Linked DNA regions of Homo sapiens: all the other regions are linked to region 1. The links are contacts of gene promoters, found by promoter capture Hi-C in blood cells and fetal thymus (Javierre and others, 2016). All regions are on one chromosome and are shown on one strand. Each heading gives the region's core, a stretch centred on a gene start or on the middle of the fragment in contact. The rest is flanking DNA. Distances are from core to core; before and after follow the strand shown.

What was found. The method cuts DNA at HindIII sites, captures the fragments that hold promoters and counts their contacts. A CHiCAGO score of 5 or more calls a contact.
Region 2: a fragment that was not itself captured here is called in contact with the fragment with the promoter of ACTR8 in region 1 in 1 of 17 cell types (neutrophils); the score reaches 6.5 in neutrophils.
Region 3: a fragment that was not itself captured here is called in contact with the fragment with the promoter of ACTR8 in region 1 in 1 of 17 cell types (naive B cells); the score reaches 5.0 in naive B cells.
Region 4: a fragment that was not itself captured here is called in contact with the fragment with the promoter of ACTR8 in region 1 in 4 of 17 cell types (naive CD4 T cells, fetal thymus, total CD8 T cells and 1 more); the score reaches 9.3 in naive CD4 T cells.
Region 5: a contact is called between a fragment that was not itself captured here and the fragment with the promoter of ACTR8 in region 1, in 1 of 17 cell types (neutrophils). The highest score is 7.8, in neutrophils.
Region 6: a contact is called between a fragment that was not itself captured here and the fragment with the promoter of ACTR8 in region 1, in 1 of 17 cell types (fetal thymus). The highest score is 5.6, in fetal thymus.

What each region holds. Positions count from the first base shown.
Region 1 is chr3:53,880,634-53,883,783 of GRCh38, forward strand. It overlaps ACTR8 (actin related protein 8), which reads right to left and starts at 1,519. Exons shown (of 13, transcript NM_022899.5): 1 at 1,346-1,519. The coding sequence starts at 1,468. RefSeq lists silencers at 1,146-1,255, 1,646-1,735 and an enhancer at 1,406-1,485. The HindIII fragment of the contact is 9,111 bases long and covers 862-3,150 here.
Region 2 is chr3:51,397,687-51,400,611 of GRCh38, forward strand. It overlaps RBM15B (RNA binding motif protein 15B), which reads left to right. Exons shown (of 1, transcript NM_013286.5): 1 at 1-222. DCAF1 (DDB1 and CUL4 associated factor 1) reads right to left here. Exons shown (of 25, transcript NM_001387579.1): 25 at 156-1,141. The coding sequence ends at 1,083. Among named protein-coding and RNA genes, the nearest start is that of RBM15B, 7.9 kb to the left of the region's middle. The HindIII fragment of the contact is 236 bases long and covers 1,192-1,427 here.
Region 3 is chr3:56,563,980-56,566,759 of GRCh38, forward strand. CCDC66 (coiled-coil domain containing 66) reads left to right here. Exons shown (of 18, transcript NM_001141947.3): 4 at 1-146; 5 at 2,615-2,780. Among named protein-coding and RNA genes, the nearest start is that of CCDC66, 8.2 kb to the left of the region's middle. The HindIII fragment of the contact is 3,205 bases long and covers 1-2,780 here.
Region 4 is chr3:56,681,238-56,684,057 of GRCh38, forward strand. It overlaps TASOR (transcription activation suppressor), which reads right to left and starts at 2,028. Exons shown (of 24, transcript NM_001365635.2): 1 at 1,439-2,028. The coding sequence starts at 1,769. RefSeq lists enhancers at 859-1,803, 1,011-1,130, 1,551-1,720 and a silencer at 1,861-2,160. The HindIII fragment of the contact is 596 bases long and covers 1,199-1,794 here.
Region 5 is chr3:51,378,504-51,381,646 of GRCh38, forward strand. It overlaps DOCK3 (dedicator of cytokinesis 3), which reads left to right. Exons shown (of 53, transcript NM_004947.5): 52 at 1,622-1,704; 53 at 2,547-3,143. The coding sequence ends at 3,056. Among named protein-coding and RNA genes, the nearest start is that of MANF, 5.2 kb to the right of the region's middle. The HindIII fragment of the contact is 4,570 bases long and covers 1-3,143 here.
Region 6 is chr3:51,670,221-51,673,170 of GRCh38, forward strand. It overlaps TEX264 (testis expressed 264, ER-phagy receptor), which reads left to right and starts at 1,032. Exons shown (of 5, transcript NM_015926.6): 1 at 1,032-1,068. It overlaps LOC124906237 (a long non-coding RNA gene), which reads right to left and starts at 885. Exons shown (of 2, transcript XR_007095907.1): 1 at 429-885. RefSeq lists a silencer at 768-1,197. The HindIII fragment of the contact is 3,279 bases long and covers 49-2,950 here.

The sequences.
Region 1 (3,150 bases), core at 269-2,768:
GACTCTGTGGCTTACACGACCCTCATGATATGGCCCCTGCTAAGATCTTCAGTCCCCTTCCTTAACTCCAGACATCCTAATCTACTGGCTGGGCCTCCAACACTTCACATCCTCTGTTGGCACAAGTGTCTTCCACACTGTTCTTCTTCCCTGAGATTCCCTCCTCCCTCTGGTTAGCTCCTAATCACCTTCAGGACTCTAAACAGATGTCACCTCACCTCCTTTGAAGAAACCCTCCCTGACTGTCGGGGATGGAGGAGGTACTTGCTTGAGTGCCCAATACTGCCCTCTGCACAAGCCCATTCCATGCCATGCTCTGATACCTGTTGTCCTATCTCCAAGTGTGACCTCTCTCCTCCTAATCACCCCCCACAGAGTGGGAGAATCCTAGAGGGAAGGATCTGGCAAGGCCCTTACAGACCATCCAGTCAGCCTTCTCAACTAGACAGATGGAGAAACCAGGCCTGTGCAACAGTAATGGCCACTCTGGGCTTACGGTGTGCCAGGCACTGTCATACTAGTGATAACTAACTAGTAGCTGCCCTACTAGTTAGGTATTATCCTTAACCCATCTACCGGTAAGGAAGCTGGATCAGAGATGTCCTACATGAATTTCTGAGCAGTTTATGCCTCATTTCTTCTGTGAATTGTACACTGCCTGTGCCCGTTTTCCTACGTGAATGCTGTTTTAGTTACTGATCAGTAAGGTTTTGTGTATGTGTATACATCTAAGGTCCTCTGCCAGGCACGCTACTGCAAATAATTTTTTCTGGTTAGTTTAGTTTGGTCTAATAGTGTTGTTTTTGATACACAAGCTCTTAATATATATTTAGACAAATGTCCACCATTTCCTTGCTTTTAAGCTTGAAATGACTTCCATTATCTGAGATTTCCTTAACAAAGGAAAAAGCCTGGACCCCAAACTATCCCTTAACAAGCACAGGCTGACGCTCCCAGTGAGCCAGCCTGGTCCTAAACTCTATCTGCCACCATTTAACCCTCACGGCAACTTGCGAGGCGGCTGGTTATCACCGTGGTCGTTTTATGGTCGGGGAAGCTGAGGCCAGAGCCCGGGCAGGAGCGCACACAACCAGACGGTGGGGCGTGCGGGAGATCGGAGCGGTGTCCCTGCGGGGGCTCCGCCTGGCTCCTGGCGCTCCGCACCTCCCAGCCCTCGGCGTCCCGGCGCGCCACCACCCGGAAAAGAACGACCGCTTCCGCACTCCCCCCACCAGGGGCTGGGGCCTGCAAGGGGGACTCGAAGCCTCCCGCCGCCTCCCGCCCCTTGCCTGGCAGCGGAGGACCCAAGCAAGGGCAAAGAGTTCCAACCCAGCCAGAGCCGCACCTCTTGCAGCGACTCCGGCACCAGCGCGGGCACGATGGGCCGCTTCACGCCGCGCTGCTCCTTCTCCTTCTCGCCGCCCTTCTCCTTTCCGTTCTCCGTATCACCCTTCTCAGCCTGGGTCATTATGGCCGGAGACACCCACCAACCTCTCGCCTCAGCGCTGCAGCCACGACTGCCGGGATGGAAGGGCCACCGCGCAGGCGCACGGCCGGCTGCCCACAGTCAAGATGGCCGCCGCGGAGTCGCCCCAGAGGGCTCCGAAAAGGCGGGGGTGGGGCTGCCCGGCGCAGGGGCTGGGGGCGGGGTGTGCATGCGGATTGATTGGGTGGGTGTTGCTGTGATTAGTCCTGACTGTGTAGATGCCAGCAACATAGTACACATAGCTTTTCGAGCGCCTAGTGGGGGTCGGCTGATAACCCGCATCTTATTTCGTCCTCACAGGCATCTCTTCTCCTGGCTTCCCAGATACCATATGTACTCTTAGTTTTTCTCATATGTCTTCATGTTCAGTCCAGCCTCTGATGTTGGGGTTAGGTCTTTTCCAGGCACACTCCTTGGGTGACTATCCAGTTTCCTGGCTTTAGCAATGAATACGATTCCCAAATATATATATCCAGGATGAACCGCTCAGAGAGATCCGTACTGATAACCAGTGCCTACTTGGTCTCTCCATCTGGATTGTCTACAAGGCACTGCAAACTTAAATATGTCCAAAATTTAACTCTTGATTCCCTCCCCTCTCACTTTCACCATCTCAGTAAATGTCATTTTGATTCTTCACTTGTTGACAGCTTCTACATCCAATCCATCAGTAAATCCTGCAGTCTCTAAAATAGATCTTGAATTCATCCACTTCTCCATTCCCATGCCACTACCTAGCCCAAGCCACTATCATCTCACCTGGATGACTACAACAGCCTCTTAACTCGAACTCCTTGTCCTGTCCCCCTATGATCTGTTCTTATATAGTTGCCCACGTTGTTTTAAAATATTACGTAGTTAATACTACTATGTACCCAGCACTCCACTAAGACTTACCTCAAAAATTAGATGTCACTCATGCTTTAAACTCTAATGGTTTCCCTTTGCTCAAAGAACAGAATCTAAACTAACCACCACCTAAAGACCATATCTAGTTATTGCTACATTTCTAAGTTCACCTCACAACACTCTCCCCATTCCTTGGCATTTCCAGCTACACCTGTTTTATCTTTCTCAGACATGCCAAGCCCTTCCCGTCATCGGGCTGTTGCACTTGCTGTTCATTTTGCCTTGGATGCTCTTCCCTCAGCTGTCTCATTCTCACGTCTGAACTCAAATGTCACCTCAGGCCTTCCGCAGTTATTCTCTCATCATCCTATTCCCTTTGAAGCATGAAGCATTAGTCTGTAATTATCATGCCTGCTCACTGTCTCCCACACTAGAATGTAAGCTCCGTGAGACTTTGCCAGTTATCTTCAGCACATGGTAGGTGCCCAATAAGCATGTGATGACTAAATACTAAATAAAGAACTCTTGGAGGTAAAAATTTAATCCCCGTTTTACAGGTGAGTGAAGTGGGATAAAATGGCATAATTCACTCAAGATCATAAGCTATTGAGTAGCAAAGACAAGAGTTAAGCATAAAGTACTCAAGAACCTGTGTTTTACATTCTATCTGAAGTGCAAAGAAGAATACCTGAATGTCAAATGCAGCCAGAACTCTGGGATAAGACCCGAGGAACAAGTCCTGCAGCAGCAGTGCTAGGAGGCAGAAGAGGACCATGGTTCACATGCTCAGGAAGAGCCATCAGTAACAACAATCA
Region 2 (2,925 bases), core at 60-2,559, 2.5 Mb before region 1:
CTGTGAGTATAAGCTACTTTCCTCCCTGGAGTGCTCTATGTGGGCAGAACATGCTCTCCTTGCCTCTCCTGGAAGGTGTCTTCTCTATGGCCTGGCTAGAGCTGCAAAAAAGGGACACACCCCACTTCGGTAAAAGAAAATAGGGAAAGGCCATAAACAAAGACAGACTTGTAGTTTATTTTGTATTTTTTTTAAATAAATACACTTTACATTAAAGAAAAAGGCCTTTGATTTGTAATTTCCACAATGGGGAGAAAGGGAAGAAAAAAAGATTTTTGAAAAACTGAATCACAAAGAAAAATAGAGGGAGTGAACTTATATCCTAAGTTCCCTCAACTCCACAAAACCAATATCCACAATGACCATGCTGCCCCCAAACCATGAAGGTGAGTGAATTTAGGCATTTACCCAGCAGACAGAGTGCCTTCCTCCCCACCTCTGGCACGAAGGAAAACAAATTAACCTGACAGCATATGAGGCAACAAAACAGGTTAAAAAATCATATATTATATTTATAATAAAATATTCTTAATCCTTATCAATTTAAGAAACCACGATTTTCCTTTTCATTTAAATACGTATGTAAAAATGCCTCTATATTGTTCTTTAGACATCATTTTCTTCCAAAGAAAATGAAGTGCAGGGACAAGAGACCTGGTGGATATAAGTTCATACCCTCAGTTATAAATGCCTGTTTTTTTTTCCTTTTTAAAGTTTTATAAAAAACTATTTCTTGTTCTTTAAGTAAAGAACACTATACAAAGAAAATATATTGTGAAATACCCCAGAGACATGGTTTTTTTTTCCCCTTGAAAGATATGTCCATCCTAGGAAATGGTGGGGGGTGGATGTGGGGGGTGCAGAGTAGGGCCTAGTCCCTGTTGTCATTTTTGTGGTGGTTATTGATTCTGGAAGGACCCTCGGGTGCCAATGAGGCTCTCTAAGCCATAATCTTCTGAATGCAGGGCATGCAGCTCCTTAAAAGACAGACAGCCCTGGGAGAAAGAGAAGGGAATATGTTCTGAATTCATTTGACTCAGTTTCTCGCCTGCCAAGAATCTCTTCCAAGCAGTGATGGCTCCTCACTCATTCAGAGATAAGATGATGTCATCTTCCAAATCAGAGTTGTCAGAGCTGTCAGCTGAAAGGGAAGAAAAGGGAGAGACAAGATTACACACTAGGCTTATAGGAAGCTTTCCTACAGAAGCACCTGCACTCACATACATTCATGCCCGAGCAAGGTTAACTACCAGTTTCCAGAAAGAAGAAAACACATCAATTAACTCCTTGGAGCTGGCTCTGGAGAATACTCCTGTTGCTTGGCAGTTGTATTCTCCCGGAGACCTTTTGCTCTCCTAAGGGCCTGGACACAGTTCCCCTGCTTCCTGCCTGGGAGGCGCTGAAGGGATCAAGCGAGTGCCATCTGAAGCTTCCCCCCATGCCACTTTAAATGGCTGCAAAGGGGCAGAGCTGACGGGAGCAGTGAGTAAGCCTCCATGGCCCTTGGCCTCTGCTGTCCTTCAAGGATACGCACAGGCCTGCCTGACCCCAAGAGACCACTAGAAAGGCAGGCTAAGACCAGGCAAAAGTGAGAGATGTATCTTTTCTGAAACACCTTAGTCACTCCCTTCAATCCTCAGAAGACCGACCACCAAGGCAGAGATAGTCACCCTAGATTCATGCCTCTGTAATTTCAGAATATAGTCTGCAAATTATATTCCCAAAAAGGTGCAGGCCAATTTGCAGCAATACAAGAGAAGTAGCTACCCATCCAGAGGCAGGAGGCCAGCGGGAGCAGTGTGACGCCCTGGAAGACAGCACTGTCTCTGATGAGGACCCTCTCTGCTTGACAATCTGCCTTCTCTGGCAGCACACGGACACATTAACACTTCTGGAAGGATCTGTTAAGGGGTGAAACTTAAGTGGTAGCAAAAAGGACCCTCAAGATGAGGTAGATACACCATGTCTGGCTGATCAAAATCAGAAAGAAACAGGGTACCTAGCTTGTAGGGACTCTAATATTCGCTGAGTCAAAGAAAAGGAAAGTTCTCAGTGCCCAATTTGATTACTCGTAGCTCAGGAGGCTATGAAACCATTTTACCTAGGTCCCCCATAAAACAGACAAACCCTGAGCCCGTAAAACAGACAAACCCTGAGCTGGAGCCCTGCAAATGCCCCATGTGGTAAGGGGCAGCCACTAGATGCAAAGAATCCCTCATCAGCCTTTTTCCAGTGCCTAAGAGAATCAACTCTTGGACAAACAGAGAGCAATCATGTTCCCAAACCTTCCTTCATTCATTATCCCCAAACACAACTTCCTTTAGGAGGAAAACTGAAGTGGACAAAGGAAAACCAAGAAAAGCATGGCAATGATACAAAAAAGTCTGGAAGTAAGCAAAAGAAATGGCTGACAAAACCAGTGTTCCTGGGTCTAAGTGGGCACAAGAGTGGCCTGACTGTATTGGTGATGTATTGGTGAAGAGTAGGAAAACAAGATGGAGATGGCAAAGAACTATTATCTAACACAGCTGAACAAAGCAAGCCTCAGCTCCTCTGCTGTAAGAGCTCCAGGAGGAAGTGTCACAGGAGGGTGTGGGGCCTCCTCCCCAGAGCCAAGTCCAGCACTGTGTCCCCACCCCATACCACAAACTTGCCTGGTCCCTGCGGCAGCATCCACAGCATCCCCCAGGACTCATGCTCTCCACAAGCCAACAATGCCAGACCCACCGGCCTGAGACCCTTCTGCCCAGCAGCTATGCAGCTCTTAAGAACTAAGAATCTTAACCACGCTGTAGCACATCTAAGAACTGTAAATGCAGCTTAACGAGGTCACAGCACAATCTTCTTTAAGCAAGTAACTGTCAGGCTCAAGGTCTGAGAGAAAACCTCCAGGGCTTGGGCACCAACTCCCCTCTGGTGGTCAGA
Region 3 (2,780 bases), core at 37-2,536, 2.7 Mb after region 1:
GAAGCCTCACAAAAAACACATCACAGCTGAAAACATGAAGAGCAGTTTGGTGTGTCTAACACAAGACCAACTACAACAGATTTTGATGACTGTAAACCAAGGAAATAGATCTCTTTCCCTGACTGAGAATGGAAAGGAGGCAAAAAGTAAGATTTTTCTAAAGTTTTCATGAATTTTGATTTTTTCAATATGTGTTTTAGAATATCAGATTCATTGGGTTTTATGTAACTGTGACTCTTAAACTCTAATTTAACCTGTCAATCTATTAAAATAATTGTTCTTTTAGAGGACTTTCTCTAATATGCAAAATTATTTTTATAGTTGTGCCATATTTTAAGGTTAGTGTTCAGAATATTAAGAAACCTAGTTTCTGTGGATTTTAGAAAAAATGTTAGTACAAAAAACTATTATTATACTTATTTTAGAATATAGGAGGCTTTACTCATATTTAAAATAGTTATATGAAACATTGTTTAAAAACAAATTACGGTATTTCCAGTGAAAATTAAGGAAACCTTACTATGACTATTTGACTTGAGTTACTGAAAAACATTGCTTTCCTGGCCACAGCATTTACTCTTCCTGTTCCTCATTCCATGCTAAGAAATGGCAGTACTTTTTTTAAAAAACAAGGTTAACACAGATTTGGAAGGAACAGTAGAGTGTTACATGCTTTGTCTTTCACAAGTCCTGGCATTGTATTGTGTTTTTAAAAGCCTTCTAATTTCCACTTTGGGATAAGGAATTGCGAATATGAAGACAATAGAAATATCTAAAATTTTATTAGGCAATAGTGAAATAAATAAAAAATTAACAGTTCACATGGAGAGGCCCCACAAATGGTTTGGGGACCCATTAACTCCTGAATATTCCCGTGATACTCAAGATGGAATTATTTACTCTCTTGTTATAGATTATTCTTGGTAAAATGAGGGAGCTGGATTTTGTCTTTAAGGCTAAAATTCTAGCAACAACCTGCTTATTAGGCATAACGAGAAATCATATCAACAAAGTTAAAAGCAGAATTTGCCTAATCACGTAGACTTTCATGATTTCTTTCTCTTCACTGGGAGAACTAGCACATTCAAAAGAAATCAGAACATTTTTTGAGCCATCCTGTGAGCCCTCTAAAACATCTGATTTTGATATTATAGCTGGGCATAGAGACAATTCATGAAAAGGTTTTCCACTGATTTCACAGCTAAATAAGAAAAATAACGTCAAGGTAATGAGTATTTATCAAGATATTTGTATTCCCCTTTAGGTTGTGATTTGTGTTATAATTTTTATTTTATTTATTTATTTATTTTTTGAGATGGGGTCTCGCTTTGTCACCCAGGCTGGAGTGCAGTGGCACGATCTTGGCTCACTGCAAGCTCTGCCTCCCGGGTTCACACCATTCTCCTGCCTCAGCCTCCCGAGTAGCTGGGACTACAGGCGCATGCCACCACACCCGGCTAACTTTTTTTTTTTTTTCTTTTTTTTGTATTTTTAGTAGAGACGGGGTTTCACCGTGTTAGCCAGGATGATCTCAGTCTCCTGACCTCATGATCCGCCTGCCTCAGCCTCCTAAAGTGCTGGGATTACAGGCATGAGCCACCACACCCAGCCATATAATTTTTATTTTTATTTTTTATTTATTATTATTATTTTTTTAGATGGAGTCTCGCTCCGTTGCCCAGGCTGGAGTCTCGCTGCGTCGCCCAGGCTGGAGTCTCGCTGCATCGCCCAGGCTGGAGTGCAGTGGTGCGATCTCGGCTCACTGCAAGCTCCGCCTCCCAGGTTCACGCCATTCTCCTGCCTCAGCCTCCCAAGTACCTGGGACTACAGGCGCCCGCCACCACGCCCGGCTAATGTTTTGTATTTTTAGTAGAGACGGGGTTTCACCGTGTTCGCCAGGATGGTCTCGATCTCCTGACCTCGTGATCCGCCCACCTTGGCCTCCCAAAGTGCTGGGATTACAGGCGTGAGCCACCGTGCCTGGCCAGTTTTTATTTTTAAAAGCATGCTGGCAAGAGGAAATGGAGATTTGTTTTCTGTTGTTGCTCGCTTGTTTTCCTTATTTGATATAAGAAATTGTATGGCTATGGTCATGAGCAAGCCATTTAACCTCTGGGCTTCAGTTTCCTTTGTTTTGTTTTGTTTTGTTTTGTTTTGTTTTTTTGAGACGACATCTGGCCCAGACTGGAGTGCAGAGTGCAGTGGCACAATCTCAGCTCACTGAAACCTCCACCTCTTGGGCTCAACCCATCCTCCCACCTCAGTGTCCCAAATAGCTAGGACTACAGGCACGTGCCACCACACCTACCTAATTTTTGTAATTTTTGTAGAGACGAGGTTTTGTCATGTTGCCCAGGCTGATCTCGAACTCCTGAGCTTAAGCAATCTGCCCACGTCAGCCTTCCAAAGTTCTGGGACTACAGGTGTGAGCCACCACTCCCTGCTTCCTTTTTTTCTTTTTGACAGGAAGGGAAACTTAATGGCTACCTCAAGGATTGTTTTGAGAGTTAATTTAAGTAACGTGTAAGACATGTAAGAACTGTATAGCACTATGCCAAGTATTATAACAGATGTAATTTAGTGTTAATTTTAAAACATGTATTTTACCTCCTAGGTCAATATAGTCTATATTTAAACAGTATTTCTAATCAGCCAAAGGATGAGAACATTATGGGATTATTCAAAAAAACTGAAATGGTTTCATCTGTCCCAGCTGAAAATAAATCTGTCTTAAATGAACATCAGGAGACATCTAAACAGTGTGAGCAAAAAATTGCCAT
Region 4 (2,820 bases), core at 247-2,746, 2.8 Mb after region 1:
ACCTATTCTCTACCAATTGATTACACTGGGAACTTTTCTCATACAGACTATAATCATACATCTCAAATTTTAACTAAATACACGAAAAGAACTGAGTTTTGACCTTTAAAAGTATCTTTCTGAACCCTAAAATTACATTAACTCAAAAGATATTTCTAGAAACATTCCTCATGCTAATTTCCAAAGGTTAACTTCATCTTTGTCAACATGGTTTCTCACACCAAGTATTTTCTTGGCTTTGCCATCCAAACAAATGAACTTTATTTGTATTTTTCCAATAAAAGGCTCAAACAATTCCAGTAGTGCAAATGGAACTGGTGATGCTTATGGAAAGTCAGTATAATGCTACAGCCAAGACTCTGTACCAGATGGATGGAAAAGATACGGGAAAAAAACAAATCCTATTTTTTTCCAAAGTAAATAATGAAAACCTAACCATACAGTAGGGCAAAAAGGAAGTTGTCTAAATTCAGAATATCCAAAATTTACTGGATAGTTAAAAAATAATACCCCAATAACAAAAAACGATACTAATTTTGACCTCCATTAGGAATTCTGACTCCATATTAACAATATGGCATTAAGATTTTTTAAAAGTACAAGTAATTAATGTAACTGTTTCCATATGGGTTCCAAAAACTAAGACTGGACTTTTTTTTAACCTGAAGTTCTACCATCTAGAAGACCAAGTTGGTGACTCTTGAGAATAAGGTAACTTCTCATTAGTTTTTTTCCATTGGGAAATTACTGCTCCAAGAACCTACCTTTCCATTCTTTTCAAATATAAGAAAAACAATACTAAGTTCGAATTTAAAGAGAGAAAAACCTATTTAATCTAACGCTTCAAAAACAAGGGGGAAAAATCTACATGGAAATGAAGTGTGATGGAAAACAGCAGTGTGCATGGATCACATCTACTAATAGAGATTTCTAAATAAGGGAGGACGCTGACATCAAGCACATTTCAAGTAGACACACAGAACTGAAGAATTTCCACGGGGAGAAGCACTCATGGTCCTCAGAACATTGGCAATGGCCTTGGAGAAAGCCCCAGAATCCATGGCCACGGGCTATTTCCATAGCGAGACTTCTCAGAAGCATCCTTAGGAGGACACAACGGCTTCTCTGCTTTCAGGGGCTGGGAGGGAGGGGCGCCGAGCACCATCTTTCCTCTCTGGGAGCTGCAGCCTTACGGACAAGCTTCAAACCTGAGCTACTTCCAACTTCCGCGGGGAGGGGCAGCAGGGGAGCGTGGTTCCACCGCTTTCTCTCGCACCAAACGCGGCAGCTGGGCGGCCGTGGCGGTGAGGGGAGAGGCGGCCGGCGCTGCATGCGTGTTTACGTATCTCGGATGGGTGTGGGAAGAGGAGATAGAAAGATTCTAATGAAAAGATGGAGGGGAGAGAGAGAGGGGGTTGAGAAGAAGGGGAGGCACCACCTTTCTTTTCTCTGCTCTTCCTGGGGATCTGAAAACTCCTCCTAACAGGCCTTTCGGGCTCTTCGGGGCCTCTGGGCAGGGCGGCCGCGCCCGCCTCAGAGGAGTCCTGAGGCTGCTCGTGGCTGAGGCTCTGGGCGGCCTCGGCCCCCGCGTTCTCCTCACGCCCAGCGCCGCCGCTGGGCTCAGCGATGTTGAGGCCGCCGCCGCCGCCATTTTGTTGGGAGGACTCAAGCTCCGGAAGCGCCTGCTTCATCTCGTCGTCTCCGCCGCCGCCACTTTCCCAACTCGCATCCGTCGGCTGACAGGCCTCCGTCTCCACAGCAGTCGCCATCGCGCCGGCCTAAGGAGCTCTGGGAAGCTTCTGCCCACAAGGTCGACGGGTGTGGGGGGAAGGGGCGGCGGGCCAGTCTCGCCGCCGAGCTGCTCTCAGCCCACCCACCCCCTTCCCCCCGTGGCCTCAGGCTGCGCTCCCGACCTGGCAGCCTCTTGGGGGGCCCTGTAGCGGGCACCCCAAATGCGCTGCCCGGTCCTCGGAGCCGCTCCTCCCTCGGGCAGTTCTTCTGCCTTCCCCCGCCACTCAACGTGCGCGCGTCGGGGCCGGGAGGGGGCGGGGCCACCGCGGGCCACTCCACCAATGGGAGCGCGGCACCCGCCTGCGCGAGTGCGGAAATACCGCGCCGGGGGGCGGAGTTTCGGGGCGCCCGAGCCCGCCAAAAGGGGCGACCGCAACGCCCCGCGAGGACCTCGACGCCGCAGCCGTGGCCTGCGGAATGCGTGGGCCCCTGGCGATCTTCGGGTTCCCGGGGATTCCCCCGCCGCGCTGCAGGCGAGGGAGACTAGCTTGGCCTCTTCTCCGGAGCGCAGGCGTCGCCCATTTGTGGGCAAAACCCTTCCTCTGCGCACGAGTTATCTCGGCCCAAACGGGCTTCAGAGCAGTGGATGCGGGACGATCTCGGTTTTATGAACTATTTGCATGTGTACAAAAACCTGGAGAGGAGATAAAAGAATGGGCTAGGCGGTAATAGCCTAAAAGCCTCGACAGCCTTTGCGACCTGCTATTCTCACCGGATCTTGTATCTTTATGATAGATTACTCGCACCCGGCCTTCTCTTTTATCTCAGAGAGTGTGACCCAGTGTCACAGCTCCAGCAAGCACTTTCACCTGAGATCCTCTGATGGGACTTAACAACCTAGTGTTAACAGGATTTGGTTCTGGGGAGTTTGAGGGGAGGAGGCTGTTAACTTTTCCCATTTTTTTCCTTTAGTCGCACCCCCCCCCACCACACGCCATGGAGACCGCACCTGGCCTCCATTTGTTCCCTTTCTATGGTTACTTCTGTTAAAAATCTGGCCACTGATAAACCTCTAACTCCACTGTTTCT
Region 5 (3,143 bases), core at 451-2,950, 2.5 Mb before region 1:
AGGCTCAATGTAGCTACCACGGCCTTAGAACAAATCCAGTGACAGCACCTGGATTGTGAGCCGCTTCTCTGCTGCTAATAGCCCAAAGGGGAGAGTTGCCTGGCTCCAACAGAGAAAGGACATATTTCTTTTTGCTGGTATTTGTTCTCTAGGAGGAGCTGGCCAAAAGAATTCACATGTCCACTGCTGCTTCTGCAGAGTGGCACCCTCAGACCCCAAGGTCCAGCCATCATTCCTCTCTCCTCCTGAAAAGTCTGTCATCCCAACTGTGGCTGAGGGGACAGTATTCTGGCAGTGGACTCCTTCTTTAACACAGAAGGGCACTCTGTGCTTCCCTTTTTCCTGGGCCCACTGCACCCCTGCATCCATGGCATGTGGGTGCTAGGAACTGGGGTTCTGTAGACGCCAAAGGGTACTCATCGGCTCCACAGCCCTCCCTCCTCCTGTTAGGAAGCAGTGGGTCCAGCTGGATCTGGGCTGCAGTTTCTTCCAACAGGTACCTGTCCTTGCTCCCTGCTTTTCCCACTGAGCCTGGGCAGTAGGAGAGCTGACTCTAGACTTTGGCAAGGAGCTCTATGTCCTGTGCTCTCTCTATATTCTCTCATTCTCATCTCTACTCTTCTGTCCTGTTTTCTCTTCTCCTCCTGGCAGATCCCAGAGGCTGCAGGCGTTCACTCCTTGCTGCACATTCAGCTATCTCATCCTGAATACTCTTTAGACATAAACTCACTCTGTTGCCCTCCTCTTAAGCAGCTTCAATCCCTGGCCACTCTCCCCTGTGGACCACAGTGCCTTGCTTGGCCAGCGTTTTTAGTTCCAGGTGCTGGCATGCCCCACATGTGTGCTGGATACGTGGTGCACACTGGAGAAGCCACAAGCTGTACTTCTCCCAGAGGGTGGCTCAAGAAGTAACCTCCCTTCATGCCATCTGTTTCCACCCTTCAGCTGTGCCAGCAGCCCCCAGCAGCTGGAGTCTGGATAGCGGAGCCCAAGAGGCCCAGCCCTTCCTGTCTGCCCATATGGGGCGCATCCTGGCCCCCCCAGTGCCTCCCCGAAGCCTGCTGCATGGTAAGAAGACCTCCAGCGGGTCCCCCGATAGTCCCTGGTCTCAGACTCTGCTCAAGGGCCACAGCAACAGCCATCTAAGCTGAGAAGATGGGCCATTCTCTGGGCCGACTCAGCCAAAGCCAAAACACCCCCACCACAGGAAGGATCCTGCTGGGCTTTGGGGTCAGTGAGGTTTCCGAGTACAGCAGGTTAGCTCAGGAAGGCCATCCCAACCAGAAGGCTGAAGACAATGGAATTGACTGTGCCAGGCACACTTCTCACCAGACTGTCTCATCGCCTAGCAGTGGGCTAGAGCTGCCGCTGCCTGAGGCCTGTTCCACAGACTCTGAAGCACTCAACTTCTCTGACTTCCTGTGTGGAGTGAGTTTCTTTTACCCCAGCAGCCTGTGTTTTGGAGAAGGCCAGTGTAAAGAGAGGTTTATCCATAGCCCTCAATGCTGAGGGGTCCCCAGGGGACTCTTCTCATGCCTGCCCAGTTGGCCCAGCAAGATGGTGCTGGCATGAAGTCTGTGCAGGGCCCCCAGCTGAGGCTCTGGTTCTGTTCCCTTTGCAGGTCATTACTCCCTACACTTTGACGCCTTCCACCACCCTCTGGGTGATACCCCCCCAGCCCTCCCTGCCCGGACCCTGCGCAAGGTAATGTACTGAAGCGGCAGCCCCACCAGGCTGTGAGATGAGTCATCTCGTCTGCTCTAGAACCACCCTTGGGGTCTACAGGAGGAACTGGAGCCCTCCCCTTCACCTCTCTCCCCAGCCTGGCAGAAGCTGGGGGTGGCCAGAGCCACACTTGAGCTGCAGGTGCACATTTGTGTCCTGCAGCAAATGTGATGGGGGCAGGGAGATCAGAGGGTCCTGGAGACAACAACACACAGTACCAAGAGTGTGTGGGCAGTGAGCACTGGGAAACCTGGGGGCTCTCAGCCAGCACCAAGGTATCAACACACTGTAGTTCGCTAGCTAAACAAATGTTCCTGTGGTGGATCAGAGAGCATTTCAAACTAGAATTCAGTAAAAGCAAGAACTTTATGAAAAACTCAGGAGAGTAAAATTTCCTACCTGTTAGCTTGTCTGCAAATTGGAAAAGACTGAGTCTATCACAGATTTTAGCAGCAGAATACATTCCTCTGGTCCACGGCCCACCAGGGTTCTTTCTGCCCCTCCTCAACAGGCCTGATGACCCAGCCTTTATGTCAGTATCCCAGAGCCACCGACGGCAGCCTGGGACCTGGGACCAGGGGGCACCAATGCCCAGCAGCCAGGGCAGGGCAATTTTTTGGCCACAGAAATGCAGATGATTCTGGAGTTCCACTGGCTTAGGGGTGGTGGGAGGAGCTGGGAGCTTGCTGCTGAAGAAACAAGAAACATGCTGTTGATGAGGGTTAAAGTTCATTCATAAGCAGGCTCTTGGTCTTCCTATGGCGGGCAAGTCAGCCTGTCTGGAGAGAGGGATTCTAACATGCCCACCCTTTCCTTCGCAGTCTCCTCTCCACCCTATCCCAGCCTCCCCCACAAGCCCCCAGTCAGGTCTGGACGGCAGCAACTCTACGCTGTCCGGCAGTGCCAGCAGCGGCGTGTCCTCCTTGAGTGAGAGTAACTTTGGGCACTCCTCGGAGGCCCCACCTCGCACTGACACCATGGACTCCATGCCAAGTCAGGCCTGGAATGCTGACGAAGATCTTGAGCCACCCTACCTCCCTGTCCACTACAGCCTCTCTGAGTCTGCCGTCCTGGACTCCATCAAGGCCCAGCCATGCCGAAGCCACTCAGCCCCAGGGTGCGTCATCCCTCAGGACCCCATGGACCCGCCTGCGCTGCCGCCCAAGCCCTACCACCCCCGCCTGCCGGCCCTGGAGCACGATGAGGGGGTGCTGCTGCGTGAAGAGACTGAGAGGCCTCGAGGCCTGCACCGCAAGGCTCCATTGCCTCCTGGGAGCGCTAAGGAGGAGCAGGCCCGCATGGCCTGGGAGCACGGCCGAGGGGAGCAGTGAGGGGCAACGAGGCGGCTGGGATGCCGCCCTCAGTAAGCAGCTTGCCAATCACTCCAGGTCTGAAAAGCAAGTCCCCCAGCCCCACCC
Region 6 (2,950 bases), core at 438-2,937, 2.2 Mb before region 1:
CTTGTCAGGATACCAAAGTAGCTCTTGGCCTCGCCGGTCTTGTAGCCAAGCTTATGAGCATAGTTGTCACCTTCCCCACCTCCCACCAAAAGTCCGGGATTTTCACGAGGGGAGCGTTTTATCTTTGGGCCCCTAGAAGAGTGCTTTGTAGTTTGTAGGTCCTCAGAAATTTGAGGTGAAGATTGAACCAATCATCAAGGAGCTTACACTTGACGTGGGAATCACGTAAGTTACCGCTAAACCACAAAGGTAGACCAGCCTCCCACAGCCACAACCTGGGCACTGAGGGAGGAGCCTGGAAGAAGGGCATTCCCATGGAACGTGAACTCCAGGAGGGCAGAACCTTGGTTTTGTTCACTCTATCCCCAGCCCCTAGAACTGTCCTGGCAAGGAGTAATAATAAGTGTTGGATGGATGAATATACTCACGGAAGTGGGAATGGGTGGGTGGAGGCAGGAAGCAGATATTTGCGCTATGCAGAAGTTGGATCCACCAGTTTCTTCCGCGAGCCCAGACTGGGCTTCAGCTTCCTCACCTATGCCTTTCTTGGTTCCCAAGTCTGTTGCGAAGCCACAGTGAGAGAAAGTGGCAGGACTAAAGGTGGTACAAATGCCAGAGGCTGATACTGCTGTGCTGCGCCTCCCTAGGCTGTACAAATTCTCCTCAGCCCCAGCTCCCTGGTCCCCAGCCTGGCCCTCTACTGCGGGCCACTGGGCTGCCTCCCGTACCCGAGCCTGGGCCAGGCTGTCACTGTGGTGCTCCTGCCAACCCAGATGCCCTGGGGTGTTGCTAAATCAACCTCAGCAACCGGATAGTTTGTTGGAGGCGGGAAGGTACGCCGTGGGTTCCGCCGCAGCCAGCGCTGGGGCTAGGCACACGCCCGTTGCCATGGAGACGGGGCGGGGCAGGCCTCCGCCCTCCGGGTCCCGCGCGCACGCGCCCACGGCCACGGCCATGTCCCGCCGCGAGAGGGGGCGGAGCGAGCGTGCGCGGCGGGCGCGCGCAGGCTCCGTAACCGAACCCTGAGCCGCCTGCGCGGATCGGCGTCCGCAGCGGGCGGCTGCTGAGGTGAGGGCCGGGCCAGAGGAGAGGCATACCCACTGGGGCGTAGGTCTGGGACTCCCCCTGTCCGCCCTGGCGCGACCTCAGGACTCTCCGTGTCCCCTCCGTGACCCCCGCGGCCCGGGCCGCTCTTTGCATCTTGTCTTGCCCACAGCTGGCCTCGGCCAGGTCCGAGGGCCTGGATGCGACCTTGGGGCAGCCCCTACTCTTCCGGGCAGCCCACTTCCGCGGCCACCGGTGCAGGGCATGCCCCGGGGCCGTGGAGGTGAGGGAAAGAGGCGCGAGTCGCGTTTTAACTCCGCCCCCGTCCCCCAAGGCCGCGCCTCGCAGCCTGGGCTGCAAACTTTAGCGTCCTTTAAGTTACAGACGTGCGTGGGGCTCCGTGAGGAGGTGGGCGAAGAGAAAGGCTCTGAGTAAATAGGCAAGGCCCGGGGTGAGCAGGGGCTGGAATCCGAAAGTGGGAGGCGGCGGCCCCCCACCCTCCATAGTCCTTCCGCCCTCTGCTAGCACCGAAGTTTAGCCCAGGACGGGGGCCGTTTAAGGGCCCGGCCCTCCGCCGCCGCGCACGTGAGCGGCACCAGGAAGCTGGCTGGGCGCAGCCTTCCCTGAGGCTCGCTGGCACCGGCCGCACGCGTCCATCCCGGGCCTCTGAGCGGAGGGGGAGCCGAGGCTAGAGGGAGGGCGCAGTCTGCCCAAGGTCAGCGGCAGCGGCAGTTTCTGGGCGCCAAGTGTGATTGGAGTACTCCAGGAAGAGGGGCGTGACCAGAGCTCTAGCGAAGAGACCTGACATTGTAAAGCTAGGTTTGGCTTCTGATTTCCACAGGGGGTTTGAGAATGGGACGAGGGTGCTTTAGAGGGACCGGTAGGCTTTCCCTGAGGACGGTAATCAGGGCATGATGGTTGGCTCAGTGGTTATTTCCTGGGCAGGGGTGACTGTTCTTTCAGCTCCCAGCACTGGAGCGCTCGGCCCCTGCCGCACTGGATGCCAGCAGTTACTAAAAGTGAGCCTGGCATTTCAGGTGAGCTCCCAGACCTTCTTCCTTTTCTCTTGAATATAGGGGAAATTCACGTTACCTCTCCACGTGCCGACCAAGGCTCTGAGACCCCCAGGTGGGTTTTCTTCCCCCCCGCCGTTTTCTGAGCAGTTTGGGAAGTGAGAGGAAGAGAAAGGTAGATACTAAGTTTCCTTGAGGAGACAGGAAGTGTTCAGCTGAGATGGCAGATCAGGGTGAGGGCTTGTCATTCCCAAGGCAAGTGGGGGCCTAGATGCTGAGAGTTTTCCAGCTTTGGGCTCAGAGATGTCCAACAAGGATTTAATGCTTCAGGCGTTTTGGAAGCCAGTCACCAGAGAGGAGAGAGAAAGTGGAAATGAGGGGCTGGAATCAGACTGTCTGGGCTTGTGTTGCCTGCATTTTGGTCCACGTGGCTCTGTTTAATACCTGTGTTACCTTGGGCAAGTCTCTTAACCTCTAACTACTTGAACCTTTAGCCTTACCTACCTCTTTGGATTGCTTTGAGGGTGAATGAAGTAGCTGTGTTTCAACATTTAGACAGTGCCTGGCGTATAGTAAGCATTCAGTGGAAGATTTCTCATCATTATCAAAGAAAATTGGAATGAAAGTTACTGGAGACAAGATGAGTAGGACAGGCAGAAAAGAGAGAGATACTGATGGGTAGAAGCACAGATGGGTGAGACTAGTGGGCAACACCTCAATTTCTTGACACCGAAAGTTTAGAAATTTACTTTGCCTCTTTGTGAGCAAATACTGTGTGCTCATTGACTCCAAAGACAATTTTTTTTTAGCGTAAAATCAACACCCAGCACCCACAGGGAAGAAATAATTCCACAGAGCTAAGTATTCCACAAAGTTGCAGCGTGGCCTTTTTA